Regions from separate parts of the Homo sapiens genome. Here regions 1, 3, 4, 5 and 6 are each linked to region 2. Evidence: promoter capture Hi-C in 16 types of primary human blood cells and fetal thymus (Javierre and others, 2016). All regions are on one chromosome and are shown on one strand. The core of a region is centred on a gene start or on the middle of the fragment in contact, and the rest is flanking DNA. Distances in the headings are between cores, read along the strand shown.

Region 1 (3,704 bases), core at 161-2,660, 220 kb after region 2:
GCACATGTACCCCAAAAACAAGTATAATAAATTAAAAAAGGGAAAAAAATAAAAATAAAAAAATAAAGGCCTTGAAAGCCAAAAAAAAAAAAAATGTGTTAAATACCAAACAGACGTATTCATGTTTAAATACATATGGATAATAGTTACAACACCCAAAAACATAAAACCTTCTTCCATGAGCTGGTCTCTGGAATGCTTAACTTTCGCATTTTAGAAATTCAACATTTTTGTAATTTTGTTGCTTACAGGCAAGAGAATGGGACTTTAGGCTGCTCTTTATAAGCATTCTCTAAATAACATATTTGAAGTATGGGCCATCTTTATTTCCAATAAAGAGAAACCTAAATTGGATATAGCCTTTGCTATGTTTTCCAGCACTGGGTTTGTAAGTCCCTGTGCTCTGTGACTTTGGATCTGGTGGCTGGAAGCTCACAGGTCTGGTGAAGATCGTGTAGTTAGCATGTGTATCCTCCTCAGTGATACCTGCGCTTAGGCTTCCTGTCTGACACCAGTGGCCCACAATGGGTGCAAATTAAGTCATATGTGACTAAGGACAAGCAACATGGTCTTAGTTCCCAGATCAACAGAGGTGGTATCTGTGAACAGAGAGAGAAACCAGGTAAAAGGACTCCATCATGAGCAAGCTTGTCTGCTCTCTCCTTCCCAGACCTGGAACTGGAGAAGGGGTGGAGCGGCTCTCATAGTGGTGAGCGAAGTTGAGAGACCCATGCAGCCAGGAGTAGAGTGGGGCAGGGAACACAGCAGCAGAGGCTCGGCCTCTGCTCACACAAAAGCATGAAAAGGTGAAATCCGAGATGGCAGAGGCTGTGAGGCAGGGAAAACCACAGGCACCCAGCCCTTCCTGGGAGCACCTCCCCGGGGCCAGGCCCAGCTGCTCTGATGTCTACCCCCTCAGTTAATCCTCACAGCCACCCCTGGGTGAAAGGGCTACTGTACTGCTGTGCCCTTTCTACAGATGAAAGGAGGCTGAGGGGTGAAGTGATTTGCTCAGCAGAGAGAAATGTCCGCTGGGTCGCGGCCTGTAGCTGGTGAGGGTAGGGACAGATCTGAGAAGACAAGCCTAAGGGAGCCAGGTCACAGGTGAGTGAAGAGCTCAGCCACCCTGAGTGGCAGCACCAGCTCGGGAATCCAGCTCCCCCCCTTGCCCCACCTCCCTGCCTCTCTAGGTGTCACTGAGGCCTGACTGGAGATTCCACTAAGCCGAGCCCCAACTATTACTCAGCCTGAATGCTCCCCTCTCCTGGCCTCCCTTCAGGCTCTCTCCTCAGCCTTTGCTTTCCCCAACAAGCAGGTGTTTCCCTGGCTCAGGGGCCTCTCTTCATGCTGCTGCCCCGATCTGGAAGGAGACTGGCATGCTCTGAGCACAGCTGCTCCTCCTATGAGCCCTACCCCAACTACCACGGAAAAGCCAGTCGGACCCCCTTTGGCCTCTCAGTCCTGTGCCTGCCAGTCAGGCCACCTACCCCTGGGAACCTACCCCAGGGTCAGTCTCCCCCACCTGACTGGCACCTGCCTCCCCCAGGCCAGGACTGTCTCTGCCCAGCATCCCACTCAGGCCGAGGTCAGGGACTGCCAAGAGAGAATCTGGCAGAAAAGGTGACATGGGTGGAGTTCGGAGCCACCAGGTTTGAAGCCTGCCCTGCACTCCCTCACTGTGACACTTGACTCTCTGAGCCTCAGTTTCTCCACCTGTAAAACAGAGGTGACCACAGCAGCACCACCCACCACAGGGGTGGAGAAAAGGCCACCAGCAAAGTTGCCACTGCAGGGTGAACCTCATGAGAGTTCCACACTCCATGAACAAGCAGGACGGGAGGACCTTGGGCCTGAGATGCACGCGAGTCCCCACCTGAGCAAGATGAAAGGCTAGCAGGAACCGGAGATGCAGCCTTGGATGCAAAACCCACAGCGCGCCCAGTAAGGTTGCCACCCCACCAAGAAAACAAAAGCTGTTCCAGACACTCTCAAAATTATCAGAAAAGAAATGAGCTTTGAACGGGAGTGAGTCAGAGGAAAGCTGATTTAGCTCCTCTCATCTCTCCATTTCCCCGAACAGTATGGAATCAGAAAGGGCTTTGAGCTGCAGGAATCTTCTGCACAAAAATACATTTGTGATTCAACAATGACCAGGCGGATGCACCAAGCTTTCTTGTATTTTTAGAAAAATCAAATAATCTTACTTCAAGTTCGTGTCATTTTTACATGGCAATTACTTTTAAATACCTTATCTAATGTTCCATAGATTTCCAAATTCACGTTTTGCTTGACACTTTGTATTTCTAAATGTATTTTAAATATCAAATATTTTATTTCACTGATTTCTATTTAATTTTATGAATCCTAGCTTTTTTAAAAACACAAAACATACCAACTCAGAGTGACTTTCTGAAATTAGGCAAAGTGACCGAGGCACTTGGCAACACTCCTTCCTCCAGCATCACTGTCACTAGTGCCTTCTGTCATTCAATCCTCACAACTCAGGGTGAGGAATCCCCCCATCTCCAGTTTACTGATAAACTCAGGCACAGAAAAGTGAAATGTCTCGCCCAAGGCCACACAGTTACACGTGGCCCACCAGGAAAGAACTGGCTGGAGTCCTAGTTCCTGCCTGGTGGCCACTACATTCCCCTCACTAACAGCTGCTCACTGACCCTAAGCACAACCCTGTGAAGCAGGTTCTAGTATCAGCCTGCTTACAGATAAGGAAACTAAGGCATGGAGAGGGTCCATGAATCCAGGCAGTCTGACCGCCGCACCACGGCTCGCAGCCCCCCAATAAGTTACTGGGGAACAGGTGAGGCGGATCAAAATCACACACTTTGAGAAGCGCTTCCCCACTCCCTGGTCTCACTGGATTCCCAGCATCAAGGGAGTGGCTTTATGAGCCCCGCTAAACAGATGAAGAAACCGGAGCACTCAAGTCACGTGACTTACCCAGAAGTCTGAGTGGCAGATCCAAGTCAGAAACCCTGGCCAGTCTGCCTCCAGACCCTGTTCCCTCACACTTACCCTGCCATGAGGGCACGATGGAGGTGACAGGTCACCGAGTGCACAAACCCACAGATACCTGAACACACCGTGGCTTTATTATTAACGGATGCCAAAAGCACACTTCCCAGAACCGCGCTAGAGGCGGGCGCCCAGAGGCAGCAGGACACTACAGCTCCTTCCTCTGGGGCAGAAAGGAGGGTGCCTGGGAAGTTCGAGGGCTGCAGTGGGGAGGCAGAGGTCCCAGCAACATTGTCAATGGCAGGCAGCGGCAGGAGGGGCGAGGCGTGGGCGAGTCCATGAGTCCAGTGAGGCGGCGCGACTCACTTGAGGCGGTAGAGAACCTTGCGCTGCATGCGATGCTGGATCTCGCCGCGCCGCAGCATGAGCTGCAGCACCTTGTGGATGGCGTGCTCCGGGTATTTCTGTGGGAGCACATGGCTGGCTAACGGCACGTGCTGCCCGAGGGGACTCCGACAGAGCCCAGACATCCCCAGGCTCACGGGGAACTTTGTACTCAGGCTCCTTTGACCTAAAGGGCCCACACTTCCTGAGTGCCCACTGTGTACCAGACACTGAGGCACACGGAGGCTAAGCCACTTGCTCAAGGTCACAGCAATTAAGAGGTAGAGCTGGGACTTAAGTCCCATCTGACTCTAGAACCGAAGCTCTAAACCTTTCTCTAAGCCTCA
Region 2 (3,405 bases), core at 726-3,225:
ATTTTACGAATGTATCATTACACATTCAATAACTCTCTCACTGTTGAACCTTTGGGTTGTTTTCAGTTATTTTAAAATTTTGTATTTATAATTTTTGGTTAAAATCCTTATATAGACGTCTGTCTACATGTTTGGTTATTTCTTTGGGGTAGTCTATGAAAAAGAATGAATGCTTCAAAGATAAAAACCTTCTCCCCTCTTTGGTATGTGAAGCTAGGTTTGGTTTAGGGGGCTTGGCACCTTTAAGAGTTTACTTTCACCAGACATACATCTACCTGCTTTACACAGTGACCCAGTGAGATCGGTGCTAAGATGATGCCCATTTTACAGAGGTGCAAACTGAGACATAGGGAGGCCAGTGTCACACAGTAAGCAGGAAAGCCTGTGCAATTCCAGCCACGCAGAGTCTGGAGTAGTTGGTCCCAAACAGGGCGTGTTTGCTCCTCAGGGACACTGCTAATATCTGGAAACATTTTTGATGGTCTCAGCTGGAGAGGGTACTGCTGTTGGTATGTAGAGGGCAGAGGCCAGGGATGCTGCCAAGCACCCTACGATGCAGAGGACAGCCCCCACAACCAGGGATCACCTGGTTGAACATGACAAGGTTGCTGGGGGTAAGAGACTCTGGTCTGGAACCCCATTTTTTACCAGCGTCCGCCAATACCTCTCTCATTTTTTTACATTAGTCCTATGGGATGCAGGGCAAAGGTAACAGCAGGAAACTCATCTAAGCAGGTCCCATTCCATCCCCTCTGACCTGCTCTTGGTGGTTGCGAGAGGATTTGCTTGTGAGAGGTTTATTGGAAGAGGATTTGAGAACTTACTTTCATTTGAAAGCTTACAGGATATTTATGACAGTCTTTCCTTACCTGCCTTCCCCCACAAAACCAACTTCTGCAGATACACAATCTAAGTAAGAAAAATCTGCTTACTTTGAAAACACAGCTTCAAGATAACCTCCCTAGATTTTTTTTTTTTTTTTTGAGACCGGGTCTCACTCTGTTGCCCAGGCTGGAGTGCAGTGGTGCGATCACTGCTCACTGCATTCTTGACTTCCTGGGTTCAAGTGATCCTTCCACCTCAGCACCCTCCCAAGTAGCTGGGACTACAGGTGTGCACCATCACGCCCAGCTATTTTTTGATTTTTTGTAGAGACGGGGTCTCACTATGTTGCCCATGCTGGTCTCAAACTCTTGGGCTCAAGCAATCCGCTTGCCTTAGCCTCCCAAAATGCTGGGATTACAGGCATGAGCCACTGCGCCTGGCCTAGTCGCCCTAATATTTATCACAAACTCCCTCACCCTCTTCCCCAAACAACTTCACATAAATCTACAATCTAGAAAACTCTGTAGGTTGGCTTTGCAGTTTCTAGACAACTCACCCAGCACCTTTTTTCTTGTGAGATGACACCCCTAAACCACTCCTCTACTGAATTTCTAGGGAAACGCCTGTGGCTGATGTAATCATCTGCTTTCTAAGGGCCAGGTCCCCTCTGCCTAAGCCCTCGGATCCCCAGCAGTGGAGGGACAAATGCAACTTGGCTAGTCACATCGCATGCTTTAGCATGTTTCAATTTAACCCTGAAATGGCTGTAAGGGAGGGAAACCTACCAGGATTAACACAGGAGAAGTTAATCCTCAGACTCTCCTCAAGCTCTGGCTGGCATTTGAACCCCGCTGCTTTCACAGCAGCTCTTTTCCCTGAGTCAGGTGCCTAAAGCCAACCCCTTGGGGGCTCTGTCCTTCAGGGACCAGAGCGGCAGCCCCCTCCTCCCCCGACTTCTGCCCGCCGTCTCACCTTCTCTCCACGGAGCTCTCCTTTGTGGCCTTGGGTCCCGAGGGAGAGGAAGATCCTGAACCTCTGTCCTTGCCTCTCCGAGGTCCCCTGGTCTGGCAGGGGGCTGTGAGTGTCTGGGCTGGAGAAAGACGGATAGGAAGAGTAGGGTGGCCTTTGAACAGGAATTGATTGCAAAACTGGTTTCGGTTAAGTGCTGCAGGAGAGAAAAAGCAAAGCTCTAGGGCTCTTCCAGGAAATCATGGGCTCCAGCTGTCACTTTCAGTTTCCTTTTTGCCAGTTTCTCTAATTGGATGAACAAGGAGGTGAAAGAGCAGAATCCAAGTCAGGAGGCCTGAGTCTCTCGTCTCTGTCCTGGCTGTGTTATAGGATGGACCTATATGGGGTATGAAAATAGCTCCTGTGGCTTAGAGCTATGGTGAGGAGCCCATGAGCAAGCGATGGGGCGCCTGTTGAATAGTGGATTCACAGTAGCTGTCATCACTGATTGTTCTGAAACTGCTTTCCTCCACAGCATCTTACGTGACGCTGATGTGGGTAACAACCCTATGAGGTGCACAGCATTAAAGGGCTAATAACTCTGAATGCAGAATCCTCTGAAAATGGAAACTTTATTTTATTATTATTATTATTATTGTTTTTTGAGATGAAGTCTCGCTCTGTTGCCCAGGCTGGAGTGCAATGGCACGATCTCGGCTCACTGCAACCTCCGCCTCCTACGTTCAAGCTATTCCCCTGTCTCAGCCTCCCTAGTAGCTGAGATTACAGGCACCTGCCACCACGCCCGGCTGATTTTTGTATTTTTAGTAGAGATGGGGTTTTGCCATGTTGGCCAGGCTGGTCTCAAACTGCTGACCTCAAATGATCCATCCATCTAGGCCTCCCAAAGTGCTGGGATTACAGGCGTGAGCCACCGCACCTGGCCTCAGAATGAAAACTTAAAAAAAAATGATAATTTATTCATTTAGTGGCAAAACCTGACCTGATCTGGCATGAATTCACCTGTGGTTTTTATGTCTCCTGCTTAATTTGAATATTTACAGTCACTGCAGAAATATTAATATGTTTGACTGAGGAGGGCTGCTGCGGGTGCGTGGGTTACATAGTACACGATACCTGCACCCCATTACCTTTCTAAAAATCCCCCAAATCAGGAACTCTGACATGCATCTGGCCTCAAGGATTGGAGATATAGGATTGTGATACTCTGTCTCCCACTTTAAGGAAGAGGAAACCCAGGCTTCTAGAAGTTGTGGGTTGTTTGTGATTACACAGCTAAGAACCAGTCCTAGGCTCTGTGTCTACAAGAATGAGCCCACAGTGAGGTTACGGGCTGAGATCTGTGTCTCTCTAGCATTTGTGTCAAATTGTGATCAGAAGCCATGTGGTTTGTTTGTATTTATATGCCCAGAAGTCCCCAGTCACCACCCCTAGCTGAGACCACATTGGAGGCTGTTGCTTTGCAGAAGGTGCGGCCCACCTAGCCAGTCCTGGCTTTGCTGTGATAGAGGCCACCTCCTGTCCCTGGGCCCTACGAGCAGGAATGAGGGGTTAAGGGCTGCTGAGTTGGGTCTTGTAGGGGCCTTTCCAACCGTGGCATCCCGGATTCCA
Region 3 (3,432 bases), core at 660-3,159, 200 kb before region 2:
TTAAAGCACAGCGAGGGAGGTGTTAAATGATACAAAAACATACAGTGTCATGAAAGGGATCCCCTTACTGCGTGTATCAGTGTGACTTTTTTCTCCCATTCCTTTCCGTGGCAGAAAGGTTTTATACTGTTAATCCTAACACCTGTCTCTGCCGGAGACAGTGAGAAGGGTGTGTGTGTGTGTGTGTGTGTGTGTGTGTGTGTGTGTGTGTATGAGAGAGAGACAGAGAATGCGCATGCGTGCACACGGGTACATGCTCCCCGCCCAAGAAAGAATAGAGTAGTAATACCAGTCCCATCTGCCTTTCTGTGTCCTGGATTGGGAGTATTCTCTGACGCACTTAAAGCCTGGAACATATATATTATTTTGGCTCCTGGATACCTTAGACTTCCTACCGTGTTTGTGTGCCAGTGTGAGGAGCCTGTGTTCCCTTCCCTGGCTGTCATTCTCTGCCTCTTGAGTTTCTGGTTGAGTTGTCAATTTAAAAACCAACAGTAACAGCAAATCTCCAGTGTAGTTTTCAGTCTGTAACTAGTAACTCAAAGCTTTTTGCTTTTTTCTGAACATCTCTTCTGTGTATTGTCAAATCCTGTTGGGGTGGAGGCCTGGTCTCAACCAAGCTCCGACTTCATCAGCTGAGCCAGCATACCTATCTGCGTAGACTGGAGGTCAGCGAAGGATTTTTTTGGTGCTACCTAGTTCCTTTGGACAGGACAGCCAGCGCAAACAAGGCAAAAACTTAGACACTTTTTGTACTGTCCTTATCTGAAGATTTTTTCCCTTTTGCTATGTATGGTGTATATTGTATGGATTATCAATATCCTGTTGTCCAGGTAAGCTAAGGGTTATAATTTCTAGATACTGTTTGATTTATGTGAAGCTTTATGGTGGAATGAAATGCCTACAAGGCTTTCTGTCTTTTGACCCGGTACCATTCAGAGCCTAGCTTTCCCAGTGCTTTTTGCTAATTTACTGTAATAAGAGGATTTAATTTATAGTATTGGCGGCCAGACAAAGGTGGTTGGCATTCACCCCTAGAAGTTCTGAAACTTTGGAGAGATTCTGTGTGTCTGTGTGTGTGTGTGTGTGTGTGTGTGTGTGTGTGTTTGTGTGTGTATGTGTGTGTGTGTGTTTTGAACCAGGTGGGCTGGACAATATAAATGTAATGTAAAAAACCCATCATATTATGATAAACTTTAGGCTTTGTTTTGAGCAGATGAGAGGCACAGTTGGCAGTTTCCAAATGTTGTATTTTCCAGAAAGGTAATATATAAAGTAGAGGGCATCTTTCCCCACTAAGACTATTTTTAGTCTAACGTTTTAGACTATTTTGTGATGACATTAGTAACATCTTATTTGTTAACTTGTTGAAATTTAGAATCAGAAAATGTTAGGTCATTGCCAAGCATATTTCTGAATATCTTATAGTAAGAAAAATTGAAGTTAGGAGTCCTGGATTCTGGTTCCAGCAATAGAGTTAACCACCACCATGTTCATGCTCAAATAACTTCAATTTTTCTTGACTTTAGTTTTGTTGTATATAAAATGAAGGAGTTGGGCCAGATGACCTCTGAGCTATCATGATTTTTTGAAATATTGTGATGGAAACCTAGAATAAGAAAATAAATACAGTTAATACAATTAATTCTGAATTAAAGATACTACTTGGTCTGTCAGTTTGTTTTAGTTTGTTTTCATGTTCCTTTAATTATTTTTTTCTTTCAAATAGCCATTTCTCTAATAATTAGCACCTATGTTGCAGGTTGGACCGGAATGCATAGAGTTAAAAGAAATAATGGACTAACTAGTACATCTTATTAGGTATTTTGGGCCTAAAGGCCCAAGCTATTTTGGATTGGGCCTGTTGGGTAAGCTCTCTGGAGTAAACTTACAGCTTTCATTCAAGTCTAAAGCTATCAATATTGCAATCATATGGCAGTGGCTGTGATTATGTTTCTCTTTAACTATATTCTAATAGAGGTCTATATTATATGTTTTATATTAATGATATAACTGTTTCTGTTATTTTGGATTATTCAAATTAAGAGTATTTTATATTTACGATAATGAGGTTTTGATATATTTGTGGATTTCACTTATCTATGAACTGTATCTCTACTGACATAAAACAATAGCTTGGGCTTTGTAACAGCTTAAGGCTGGAAGTGTTATGAGACTAGATTAGAACCAGGTCTTTTTACAAGTAAATATTAATGTGCTTTCAATGAGAAACATCTGTGAACAGTAAATTTCTGACCCACAACCAGCAAAGTATGGGAATTATAGTAACTATAACATAAGTAAAATTCTTTGAGGAAAAAGTTGAAAAAGTAAAAATGTTTCCCAAGTGAATTGAAGTATTAGACATATATGAAAAAATAATTACAGTATGTAATTGAATTTTTTGAGGAAGGAAATTGACCATCTCCCCCTCCCAATTTTGGGGTGGATTAAAGAGTTCCTGTTCAGAAATTATGACATGGTTTGATGAAAGTCTTTTGCAGCAAAATTCTAATCAATATTCATAATAAGATGAATTTTCCACCCCCAATTTTTTTGGTTATTAGTATTTAGTACTGATAAATGTAGTGCACAGTATTTGAAACTACACTTTCCTGGCTTTACTCCATTTGTAGGTTTATTCTATCTGAAATTAACGTCGTTTAGAAATGGAGGTAATGGGATATTAAAATTTAAGGGTTTACTCTCCATTCTGCCACATAGGAAAGCTAATGGGATTAAAAAAAAACAATTTTAAATTGAAGGATCCCAAGCTATTTTACAATCTTATTTATTACTTTTTTAAAGTAACAGTTTTTTTCAGTGCATTTATAAATGAGTAGTAGATGGTTGGTTACTACCCAAACTCTTAACTACAGTTATAAAATGTTTTTAGCTTCTTTTATATATTCTTTTGCTTAGTTAAATCCAAGCTTTCCATTGCATAATGCTTGCAGTTTCATACTAATGCATTATACAGTTGGACGTTATGGAGGACATGATTGAACAGTATTTCTTTTAATGAAAGGTTTTACATCTATTTTTAATTAAGTTATTTCTAGAATTGCTAGTTTTGAGTTAATGAAACAAAGTGAGTTCTCTTCAACAGAAAGTTCGAAAATATTTTAGGTACTTGACCTTTCATTGCTAAATCATGCCTATTTTAAGAGTGTGCCATTGAAAATGATTATTTTATTAGTTATAATTTTCGTAGAACCTAGTCTGGCCAAATTAGTTTAAAATCAGGCAGAGTAAGGAGATACAGGCTTGCTTGTGATTTAAGGGACAATGAATGTAGTCTCCCTGCCCAGACAAATCTATTTAAGAAACTGTTCCTGAAGTTATTCTTATAGACAGTCTTTCAGATTAAACATTTACTGCCTCTGATCAGATGGTTAAAATGTAACTTGTTGCAAGTTAAGGGTATTGTCT
Region 4 (3,791 bases), core at 253-2,752, 180 kb before region 2:
TTGTTTTTTTATACCTACTTTGTGCCAGTCAATTTTACATACATAGCACATTTACAAACATAATTATTCATATTATGTATCACTTGTCAATCATCTTTGAGATAGGTGAGGTTTTTCCCATTTTTTGCAGGAGACTTTGAGATTCTAAAGATCAGGCAGCCTGGAAACAGAGAGAGATAGGTTTCAAACTGGAGATCTATTTAGTCCCAAATTCGCATGCTCTTCCATTATTCTGTGAACCTCATAAGATAAATAGTTCCATTGTTGGCCATGATAAGTAGAAAAGTTTTCTTTATGAGCTGAAATCTGTTTTCATGATTGTCTTCTCACTCCTTCTCATTTTCTCATCTGGAGTTGCATTGAGTGGTTTCATGTCTTCTACATAAAAACCAAATATTTGAAGATACTGCTGAACGTTCCCTTTAATCTTCTGTTGCCTTGCTTATTTTTCCTACTTCCTTGAATTACTCCTCATAGATATGAAAACATACGGTTTCCAGAATGTTTACTGACTGTCCTGGACTAGTTGCATTAATTTATATGAATGATTTGTCATTTATGTCTAATCACTAAGTAAAAATATCAATTATGATTACTTTTTAAGTTTTATTGATGCATAATTATACATATTTATGGGGTACATATGATATTTTGATACATGCGTATAATGTGTAATGATCAAATCAGTAATTAGGATACCCATGACCTCAAATATTTATCATTTCTTTGTATAGAGAACATTTCAAATCTCCCCTTCTAGCTATTTTGAAATACACAATAAATTATTGTTAACTATAGTCACTGTGCTGTTGAATATTAGAACTTCTTCTTCTTCTTTGTTTTGGAGACTGAATCTCACTATGTTGCCCAGGCTGGAGTACAGTGGTGCAGTCTTGGCTCAGATCTTGGCTCACTGCAATCTGCGCCTCCTGGGTTCAAGTGATTCTCCTGCCTCAGCCTCCCAAGTAGGTAGGACTACGGGTGCATGCCACCACACCTGGCTAATTTTGTAATTTTAGTAGAGACAGGGTTTCACCATGTTGGCCAGGCTGCTCTCGAAATTCTGACCTCAAGTGATCTGCCTGCCTCTGCATCCCAGAGTGCTTGGATTACAGGTGCGAGCCACTGCACCTGGCCAAGAACTTATTTCTTCTGTGTTTTTGTACCCAGTAACCAACCTCTCTCCATCCCCTGCCTCCTTCCCAGCATTTGCTAAACATTCTACAGTTATGAGTATTAAGTATCATATCTTTGTTATAAGTTTTGTTTTATGATAACATGTTTGGCTTTAGTCAGTTTCTTTTTTGTTGTTTTTGAGACAGGGTCTCACTCTTTCGCCCAGGTTGGAATGTAGTGGTGTGATCTCGGCTCACTGCAACCTCCGCCTCCTGGGTTCAAGTGATTATCCTGCCTCAGCCTCCCAAGTAGCTGGGACTACAGGTGTGCGTCACCATGCCCAGTTAATTTTTGTACTTTTTGGTAGAGACAGGGTTTCACCATGTTGGCCAGACTGGTCTTGAACTCCTGACCTCAGGTGATACACCTGCCTCGACCTCCCAAAGTGCTGGGATTACTGGCGTGAGCCATCGCATACAACTGGCTTTAGTCAGTTTGTATAGCTCATTGAACATGTAGTGTTGTTGGCAATTTATAATTTCAAAAATGAAGGGATATTACCTTGAACTCCTAAAAAGAATAAATAGAATATTGTTTTTCTCTCCACTATAAAGCATGCCCTCAGCTGATTGGCAGGAATCTACCTGTCTTTTAGTATCTGAGTCTTGCCCTGATCCCTCAAAGGTTACTGTCACTGAGTAATGGAAGTCAATAATTATTTTATGAAATTATAAATGAATGCTTTTATGTCCACAAATGATACAACTGTATTCTTTTTTCCTAATGTTAATTATGATTCCTCATAAGAAGTTTGGAAGAGACAAACTGGGACTTAAGTGAAGGAGATTGGGTTTTGAAAAGACTCTTAACTGAGAGCAAAGATCCACGAACTTTTTCTGTAAAGGGCCAGATAGTAAACAATTTTGGCTTTGCAAGCCATGTTGTTTCTGTCACAACTACCCGGCTGTGCTGATGAAGCATTGAAGAAGCTATAGATGATAAGTAAATGAATCGTTGGTTGTAGCTGTGTTCCAGTAAAACTATTTACGGACACTGAAATTTAAGTTCCATGTAATATGTATGTGTCACAAAATATGATTCTTTTAACTTTATTTTTAATTTATTATTATTTTTTTTTTGAGACAGAGTCTCTCACTATCACCCAGGCTGGAGTGCAGTGGTGCGATCTCGGATCACTGCCAGCTCTGCCTCCTGGGTTCACGCCATTCTCCTGCCTCAGCCTCCCAAGGGCAGGTGCCTGCCACCATGCCTGGCTAATTTTTTGTAATTTTAGTAGAGACAGGATTTCACCATGTTAGCCAGGATGGTCTCGATCTCCTGACCTTGTGATCTGCCCACCTCGGCCTCCCAAAGTGCTGGGATTACAGGCGTAAGCCACCGTGCCTGGCCTCTTAACTATTTAAAAACGTAAAACCATGCTTAGCTTGCAGGTTATGCAAAAGTAGGTGGAGGGCTGGCTTTGAACCACAAGCTATAGTTTGCTGATCCCTGACTCAGAGGGATACAGGACCTCGCAATTTCCTTTATAGCATACGTAAGGTTTTCCCATATAGCTTCATGACAGAGAGACAGTTTTGAGTGGTTCTAGCAGGTCATGATGGATCCCTTTTATAATAGAATGAATCCCCTGATTTGCTCTCTTATTTCCCCAGCCCCAGAAAATATGAAGATTCTTCTCCTTCTTTACTTCCTTTCTCCCTCCATATGCTGTATTTTATACCTTATTGCTTTTCATATACATTTTCATATTTTTTTAAAAACATTTTTCATGTAGTTATATACTGTATAACAACATTTGGGTCAACGACAGACTGCATACACAATAGTGGTTCCATAAGATTATAATACTGTATTTTTACTGTCCCTTTTCTATATTTAGACACACAAATACTTAGGTTTGTGTTATGCTTGCCTACAGTATTCAGTATAGTCACATGCTGTACAAGTTTGTAGCCTAGGAGCAATAGGCGATGCCATATAGTCTAGGTGTGTAGTAGGCAATACCATCTAAATTTGTGTAAGTACACTGTGTGATGTTCACACAAAGACACTTGCTTAAGGACACGTTTCTCAGAACATATCCCTGTCATCAAGTGATACATGACTATTATTTATTACTTTGGGCCAGATGCATTTTTCTCCCACATGATTAATTTGTCTTTAAAGGTTCAGCTTAGACTTCACCTACTTCAGAAATCTTCCTGTCTCACACAGTTGTCCCTCTGTGCTTCATTAACATTCTGTATGCATTGTTCGTTTAGCTTATATGGTACTATAATTGTGAGTATATTTCTGTGTTTTTCCATCAGACTATAGTTTCTTTCAGGATTGGGACTATATCACCAGTGTCAGCATCCAGCAAATATTTCTTTTGAGTTAATTAATGATTTTTAACTTGCTAATTCATTGATAGTGTCCTCTTTTGAAATGTTGAATGGGAGAGTTAAATTGGGTAGTCACTTGTAACCTAATGCTTATTACTTAAATCAGTTAATACTTAGCACACATGTAGTTTGGGAAATAGATGCTTTACATGGCTAGAAGATTGGGAGGATTTTGGAATAAACAACTATTTGAGGGACACAGGAAACTCTTGTATTGTAGATGTTTTAGTGAAAGTGGAAGCCTGGGTGTATGACGGTAAATGGCATAGG
Region 5 (3,797 bases), core at 329-2,828, 240 kb before region 2:
CATAGGATCTAAACTGGCTTAGGAGGGAGGTAGAACATAAGAAGGAGTAATAGTGAAAAAGTGGTACATCAGCCTGTAAACTATAGATCTTAAGGAGGCTGGAGAATTGCCACAGGGGTCAAACTACTATTGTAAGCAAACGCTTGATGGTGTGATAATAGAATACTTGAAATTTTTGTAGGTAATGATTGTATTAGAATATGATGCTAGGTGAATGGCTTTAGGTGAGGTGGTGGAAAAATACAGTTGGTGCTAAAGACTTCAAAAAGAAGGCCAAAATGTTGAATCTATGTGGCTGTTGAAGTTATCAGAGTGATAAGACTAACAATGGAGATGAAATCAGGGAGCCCTATTTAGCAGGGGACAGGTGCAGTTTGCCTGGAGGGAAGAGAAGTGGTTTGGAAGCAGTATTGGGAAGGAAGGAAGAGGATATCTGGAAGGTCCAACACTATATGGTAATGGGGAGTAAGGCCGATGCTTGCCCCTGCTGAGGTATGTGATGAGTAAGAAAAAAGTGTTTACTGTAGAAGCAACAGTAATCTCAGGGGCAGTCTGGTTTCCTTAAGATCAAAAGAGTAAAGAGAATATCACAGAAGAGAGGTGAGTGTGTAGAGGAGTTTGCTGAGAATAGCCCATGACCTCCAGGGCGTGGGAGGGCAAGGAAGTGCAGGAGATGGGATCAGAAAAGGCATAGAGAACAGTTACCATTGTAGTTGTTCAGGTATGAGGTAAAAGGGCCTTGAGGTCAGGGTTTGACAATGAGAATAAAGATTTTAAGTAGATAGGAAAGGCTTACGCATGAATGCTAAAATATGGCAAGCTTCAGTTATTTAGGAAAGCCGCCTTTACTATTTGTTTTAATATGACATTTAATGTTAAACAACTATCTCTTTCTGGTCATGTTTCAAATCAGAATATGGAATTTTGTTGTTGTAAAATATATAAATTAAGGACTAAATTTGGAACCAAGTAAGTAAATACTTAGTAGATTTTAAATTGTTCGTTTGGAGGAGCAGAAAATCAGCGTGGTCAAAGCACACATATTGACAAGACGGAGAGGGAGGGTGGAGGATTAAACACCCAAGATATATTTCCTCTGGTCCTTTTCCCAACAACGACAAAAATATATTTTAGGAGTTGTAGTCTTACTTCACTAACTCCCCTTTCTCCTTCTTGGTTCTGGAAAACTGTACAGTCGTGTACCACATAAAGACGTTTCAGGTAGCTATGAACTGCATCATTCATCAGTGCAGTTCAATGCATCAGTCAATGCAGTTGAAGGCATCAGTCAATGCAGTTCAATCTTACGGTGGTTTCATAAGAGTGTATAAATAACAATTGTATCTTTACTGTCCCTTCTCTGTGTTTAGGTACATAAATACCATTGTGTTACGATTACCCACAGTAGAGTATTCAGTAGTCACCTGCTGTACATGTTTGTAGCCTAAGAGCAATAGGTCGTACATACCGTATAGCCGAGGTGTGTAGTAGGCTAGGCCATCTGAGTTTATGTAAGTACACTCTATGATGATCTCACAACTATGAAATCACCTAACAACACATTTCACAGGATGTGTGCCTGGCATTAAGCAGCACATGACTATATTGCTTTTAAAAGTTGTAATCCAGTTGAAAGCATTACATTCCTGTTTAGAATTAATAGGTTTTTCTGAATGTGAGAACTTGGTGCTCCTCTTCACACATTTTTTTTTAGCATCTTTCACTATTATTAAATAAGAGAACATATGTTACTTGTAATTGAAGGCCAGCATAGAATAGACATTCCACAGATATTGGTTGAAAAGTTAATTGGATATTCTAGGTATAATGAACTGTCTGGGTAGCAAAGTGTTCAACTAAAATATTGTGTTTGGGCCGGGCGCGGTGGCTCACGCCTGTAATCCCAGCACTTTGGGAGGCTGAGGTGGGCGGATCACGAGGTCAGGAGATCGAGACCATCCTGGCTAACATGGTGAAACCCCGTCTCTACTAAAAATACAAAAAATTAGCCGGATGTGGTGGTGGGTGCCTGTAGTTCCAGCTACTCAGGAGGCTGAGGCAGGAGAATGGCGTGGACCCGGGAGGTGGAGGTTGCAGTGAGCCCAGATCGTGCCACTGCACTCCAGCCTGGGCAACAGAGTGAGACTCTGTCTCAAAAAAAAAAAAAAAAAAAAAAAAAAAAAAATTAGGTTTGGGTTTCACTTAACCCAAATCTATAGGCTCTGTACTGTCTTCATTGTGTATTAACTTGTACGGTGTTTTACTTGCTTATTTAAATATAGACCATCTATTCAGAGGTTAAATAAATCAAGAGGGAGGTAAGAGTCAGAAGCTTATGTTGTTTATGCGGGGAAACGACCTAGCTTTCATTCCCTAAAATAACTGTCAAATTATTTTTCCTGAGTGTGTGAGATGAACTTTAATCACTGGCAAGATTCTTGTATCCATGAAAATCAGAAAACTGACTATGGTTTCATTGTGTTTCTCATCATACGCTAGTTACATTTCTGTCCCTGGCCTAGTCATTAGCCTGCCATATGATTAGACAGATGATCTTTATGCTCTTGTGTCTCATCTGTAAAATGGGCATGATTTTTCCCAGTAGAATTGTTAAGTATTATTTCTTAGATAAATTGACATTCACATAAAATATTCTTAATGATTTATTTATTCTGCTTCTTGTACAGTACTTGAAATTGCCAGTTAGGTAAAAAACATCATGGTTTTTTTGGCAAGGTGGGACTGAAGGTCTCACTAAACAGTACAGTAGATGCCAAAGGCTGGGCAGGGGTAGGTGGTCAGAGCACGTGTTGGGAAGATCAGTTGTTGCTGTGTCTGTGTTCTCCTCTGCTATATTTAAGTAATTTTAGATATTTATTTTTATTTTTGTGTTTAATTTTATTAAATTAAGGTTATTAAAAATAAGTTTCTTGGATTCATTGAAAATCAAAACCATTTTTGCATGTTGCTCAACAAGTTGCTCTAATATTGGATGTTTGCAGATAATATTCAAACTGGAGAAATTTTCGATTGTTAAAGGCAGTTGGGATTGGAAGAGATAAGAAAACAAATTCCCAAGTGCCTCCTATGATAGGAGGCACTGGGTCTGATGCTTTCATTACTATTATCTTGTTTCATCTTACAACGGGGAAGGAAGATTCAAATGCGCAGTCTTGCTTCAGAGTCAGTACTCTTAACCAATATGTTGTAATACATTCAGCTAGTCTGTGATAGGCAGCATCTAAGATGGTCCCTAGTGATCCCCACCTCCTGATATTCATACCCTTGTGTATTATCTTCCCCTTATAGGCTGGACCTAGTGACTCACTTTGAATGCATAGAATATGGAAAATTGATGAGATGTCACTTCTAAGATTTGGTTACAAAGAGACTGTGGCTTTTATCTTGGGTGCTTGCCCTCTCTACCTTTCTCTCAGAGCCCCTACACTGTTAAGTAGCCTTGTGGGAAGGCCCAAGAGCCAGTGATGTCTAGGCCTAACAGCTAGTGACCTGCCAGCAGCCAGGTGAGTGAGTTTGGTGGTGGATCCTTGATAGTCAAGCTTTAATGATTGCAGCCCCAGCCAACACCTTGACTGCAGCCTTGTGAGAGTCCCTGAACCAGAAGCACTTAGCTTACCCAGCTGGATTTCTGATCCACATAAACTGAGATAATAAATGCTGTTTTAAGCTACTGTGATTGAAAATGAATTGTTACATAGAAATAGATAACTAGGCCGGGTGTGGTGGCTCACATCTGTAATCCCAGCACATTGTGAGGCCGAGGCAGGCGGATCGCT
Region 6 (3,570 bases), core at 611-3,110, 240 kb after region 2:
ACCCTGGACTGCTTTTCCCTCCCAACCCTGGGTTCCCTACAACGCTGTCTGGGTATCCTGGTGAGACAGAAGTCACCAATGTAGAGGGACCCTGTTCATGGTGTCTCAGAGCCACAGGGCATCAGATCTGTGCCAATCCTAAGGGCACACCCCTGCCCAGCCCATCCCAGTGGATCTCTAGAAGCAGCTGCAGGCAGTGCTTGCTACTTGTTCTCATCCTTTCTGATCTTCACTCAGGTCACCTCCCACAGTCCCTCTGGGCCACAGACTCACGTGTTGCACTTCCTGGGCAGGGCATAGCCCTCGAGGCCAGGGCGCATGGCAATGTTGGTGAGGGTGTTGCGGCAGCTGCGGCACTGGATAGAGATGCGGGTGGCCTTGGCACGGACCGCAGAGGCCGCGATGATGATGCCAGGGATCTTCACCAGGTGTGACATCATGTCCGACTGTAATAGAGCCATCGGGAAGCTTGTTGGTTAAGGGGAGCCAGGACGCATCTGAGATATGCCAGTAAATATCCTGGGCAGGAGCCTGGAGGAGGTGGGCACAGAGCTGCAGGGAGGGCCACAGCTCTTCTGTTCCGCTCAAAAAATGCTTCCAGAGCATCCACCCAGTGCCAGGCTATCTGGACCCTGGGGTTCAGAGGAGCCTCAGGCACAGCTCCTGCTTTTAAAGACCTCGCAGCACAATTGGGGGGGGAGGTGGCAGGGCAAGAGATACACTAAGCACATTTCACTACAAAGTGGCAGGTGCCAGGAGAGAGACCTGACCCCAGCTCTGATGGCGACATCCTTGGACCTGTAGAGTACAACACAGAACAAACCTGGGAGGCAGGGGCCCACATTCTAGTTCAAGTTCTGTCAAAACCTGCTGTGTGGTCTTCTGTCTGGGTCACTTCTCTTTGAGCCTCAGTTTCCCCATCTTAATGACTATTCCCACACCGGACAATAAGGCAGTAATATTTTTTCTTTTTTCTTTTTTTTTTTTTGAGACAGAGTCTTGCTGTGTCGCCAAGGCTGGAGTGCAATGGCAGGATCTCGGCTTACTGCAACCTCCGCCTCCCGGGTTCAAGCGATTCTCCTGCCTCAGCCTCCCAAGTAGCTGGGATTACAGGTAACTGCCACCATGTCCAGCTAACTTTTTGTATTTTTAGTAGAGACGGGGTTTCACTATGTTGGCCAGGCTGGTCTCGAACTCTTGACCTCAGGCAATTCACTGGCCTCGGCCTCCCAAAATGCTGGGATTACAGGCATGAGCCACCGCGCCCGGCCGTAATGTTAATTTTTAAGTGTGATGTTATTGTAGCTATGCCTTTAAAAATGACTCTTCAAAGGCTGGGTGCAGTGGATCACGCCTGTAATACCGACACTTTGGAAGGCCGAGGCGGACGGATCACTTGAGATCGGGAGTTCGAGACCAGCCTGGCCAACATGGTGAATCCCCGTCTCTACTAAAAATACAAAAATTAGCCAGGTGTGATGGCATATGCCTGTAATCCCAGCTACTCGGGAGGCTGAGGCCGGAGAATTGCTTGAACCGGGGAAGCAGGGGTTACAGTGAGCTGAGATCATGCCACTGCACTCCATCCTGGGCGACAGAGTCAAACTCCGTCTCAAAAAAAAAGAGATTCATCTTTTAGAGATACATGGAGAAATAGTTCCAGATCAAATTATATGATGTATGGGACTTGTTTCAAAAGAACTCCAGGGCCACAGATGAAACAAGATTTGGCATCTATGGATCACCTGAGGTCAGGAGTTCGAGACCAGCCTGGCCAACATGGTGAAACCCCATCTCTACTAAAAATTAGCCGGGCGTGGTGGTGTGTGCCTGTAATTCCAACCACTTGGGGGGCTGAGGCAGGAGAATCACTTGAACCCATGAGGCGGAAGTTGCAGTGAGCTGAGATCGTGCCACTGCACTCCAGCCTGGGCAACAAGAGCAAAAACTCCATCTCAAAAAAAAAAAAAAAAAAAAATTGGCCTCTAGTTGCTAATTATTAAGCTGGGTGATGAGTACAAGAGGATTCGTTATACGATTCTCTTTATATTCTAATGTTTGAATTATCCATAATAAAAAGTAAAACATAAATTCTCAGCCGATCCACTCCTTCCTATGGCCAGCCCTTGCCCTTCACAAAGCTCCTGAGCCACTAGTGTACAGGACTGGGACAATCTCTCTCCACCTTGTCTCCGTTTCTCAATGCCCTCCTCCGGCTGAACGAGAGAACCAGACATGAGCAGAAGTTTTGCTGGGGCTCTCAAAGAAAGCAGGAAGAGGCTGTGGGAAGCAGAAGCGAGGCTGGGGAGGCGGAATTCAAGACTCCATGCCTGCATCATTACAATAAAGTGACCATCACCACCTCAACCTAGCACCTGGTCAGTCTCAGCATAGTGGATGGAGGGATGCAATGAGGGATCCAATACCACCCATAAGCGTTCTTGCCCGGTATGTGAAATCGAAACACAGTCAGGCCTTTGCATCTAACTTCCAGCTTCCAAAAATCACGGGGGGGAAGGGGTATGTTGTAACCACCCCAAGGAGGCCTTCAGATAAATCTAAAAGGCAGCACATTCTACAGGATAATGGCTCCTGCTTCTTTAGCAAATCAATAATGTATCTGTGAAAGAACTTACACCCAGAGTAAAGGAAGCTGTCCTGGATTAAAAGAGATTTAAACAACAATCCAGTACAATGCCTGGTCCTGGCTGAGACACACGAGCTGTAAGAGTCATGTGAGGTAATTTGGTCAATCTGAATCTAGACTGTATATTCAATGATACTAAGAGATCTTTGATGTTTCAGTTGAGGTGCTAATGAGACTATGTAAGAAAACTTTTTTTTTTCGGGATAAAGTGTCATGTCTGTAATTTATTTTTTATTTTTAGAGACAGGGTCTTGCTCTGTCACCCAGGCTAAAGTGCTGAGAGGCACAATCAGAGCTCACTGTAACCTCAAATTCCTAGGCCCCTTGATCCTCCCACTTCAGCCTTCCAAGTAGCCTGGACTATAGGCATATGCCAGCATACCTAGCTTTGTTTTTTTTGTTTTTTTTTTGTTTTGTTTTTTGGAGAGCCAGGGTCTCAAACTCCCGGTATCAAGCAATCTTCCTCCCTCGGCCTCCCAAAGTGCTAAGATTAGAGGCATGAGCCACTGTGCATGAATTTACTTTAAAATTCTTTAGCAAAAAAGAAAAAGGACAAAATAGGAAACAACACAAAATGTTAATTATTAAATCTGGGTGAAGCTTTATGGGATTCATTATACTACTCTCTGCTTTTGGGTGTGTAATTTTTCATAACAAAAAGCAAAAAACAACAAACGATCCTTTTGTCTCCAGGAGGAGACAGGTTCAGAAAGGTCAAGTGCCTCACTCAAGGCCACACAGCTAGCACTCAGGTCTGGCTGCATCCAAAGCCCTCTGCACCATGCAGCAGCCACTGCCCTCCGACCCACCTTCAGGCTACGAATGCTGGAAGGGCTGGCGTCCGACTTGAGCATGACCTGGATGTCCTGGAGCACCTCCTCCCCAGAAGGCCGGGGCCGGGTCACCTCATCAGCTACCTCCTT

The links. The method cuts DNA at HindIII sites, captures the fragments that hold promoters and counts their contacts. A CHiCAGO score of 5 or more calls a contact.
Region 1: a contact is called between a fragment that was not itself captured here and the fragment with the promoter of APOL6 in region 2, in 2 of 17 cell types (M0 macrophages and M1 macrophages). The highest score is 7.7, in M0 macrophages.
Region 3: a fragment that was not itself captured here is called in contact with the fragment with the promoter of APOL6 in region 2 in 4 of 17 cell types (M2 macrophages, M1 macrophages, M0 macrophages and 1 more); the score reaches 6.9 in M2 macrophages.
Region 4: a fragment that was not itself captured here is called in contact with the fragment with the promoter of APOL6 in region 2 in 1 of 17 cell types (M1 macrophages); the score reaches 5.6 in M1 macrophages.
Region 5: a contact is called between a fragment that was not itself captured here and the fragment with the promoter of APOL6 in region 2, in 5 of 17 cell types (M1 macrophages, M0 macrophages, M2 macrophages and 2 more). The highest score is 10.9, in M1 macrophages.
Region 6: a fragment that was not itself captured here is called in contact with the fragment with the promoter of APOL6 in region 2 in 1 of 17 cell types (naive CD4 T cells); the score reaches 5.2 in naive CD4 T cells.

The regions. Positions count from the first base shown.
Region 1 is chr22:35,423,887-35,427,590 of GRCh38, reverse strand. It overlaps MCM5 (minichromosome maintenance complex component 5), which reads right to left. Exons shown (of 17, transcript NM_006739.4): 17 at 2,160-3,437. The coding sequence ends at 3,336. Among named protein-coding and RNA genes, the nearest start is that of MCM5, 26 kb to the right of the region's middle. RefSeq lists enhancers at 230-735, 736-1,243, 1,244-1,749. The HindIII fragment of the contact is 1,521 bases long and covers 650-2,170 here.
Region 2 is chr22:35,647,016-35,650,420 of GRCh38, reverse strand. APOL6 (apolipoprotein L6) reads right to left here and starts at 1,975. Exons shown (of 3, transcript NM_030641.4): 1 at 1,798-1,975. RefSeq lists an enhancer at 1,971-2,270. The HindIII fragment of the contact is 8,876 bases long and covers 840-3,405 here.
Region 3 is chr22:35,846,973-35,850,404 of GRCh38, reverse strand. All of the region lies in intron 2 of RBFOX2 (RNA binding fox-1 homolog 2), which reads left to right. Among named protein-coding and RNA genes, the nearest start is that of APOL5, 130 kb to the right of the region's middle. The HindIII fragment of the contact is 2,053 bases long and covers 883-2,935 here.
Region 4 is chr22:35,829,897-35,833,687 of GRCh38, reverse strand. The region is part of intron 2 of RBFOX2 (RNA binding fox-1 homolog 2); the gene reads left to right. Among named protein-coding and RNA genes, the nearest start is that of APOL5, 110 kb to the right of the region's middle. The HindIII fragment of the contact is 6,874 bases long and covers 1-3,791 here.
Region 5 is chr22:35,884,232-35,888,028 of GRCh38, reverse strand. The region is part of intron 2 of RBFOX2 (RNA binding fox-1 homolog 2); the gene reads left to right. Among named protein-coding and RNA genes, the nearest start is that of RBFOX2, 140 kb to the left of the region's middle. The HindIII fragment of the contact is 1,512 bases long and covers 823-2,334 here.
Region 6 is chr22:35,403,429-35,406,998 of GRCh38, reverse strand. It overlaps MCM5 (minichromosome maintenance complex component 5), which reads right to left. Exons shown (of 17, transcript NM_006739.4): 4 at 3,457-3,570; 5 at 274-446. Among named protein-coding and RNA genes, the nearest start is that of MCM5, 5.1 kb to the right of the region's middle. The HindIII fragment of the contact is 2,779 bases long and covers 471-3,249 here.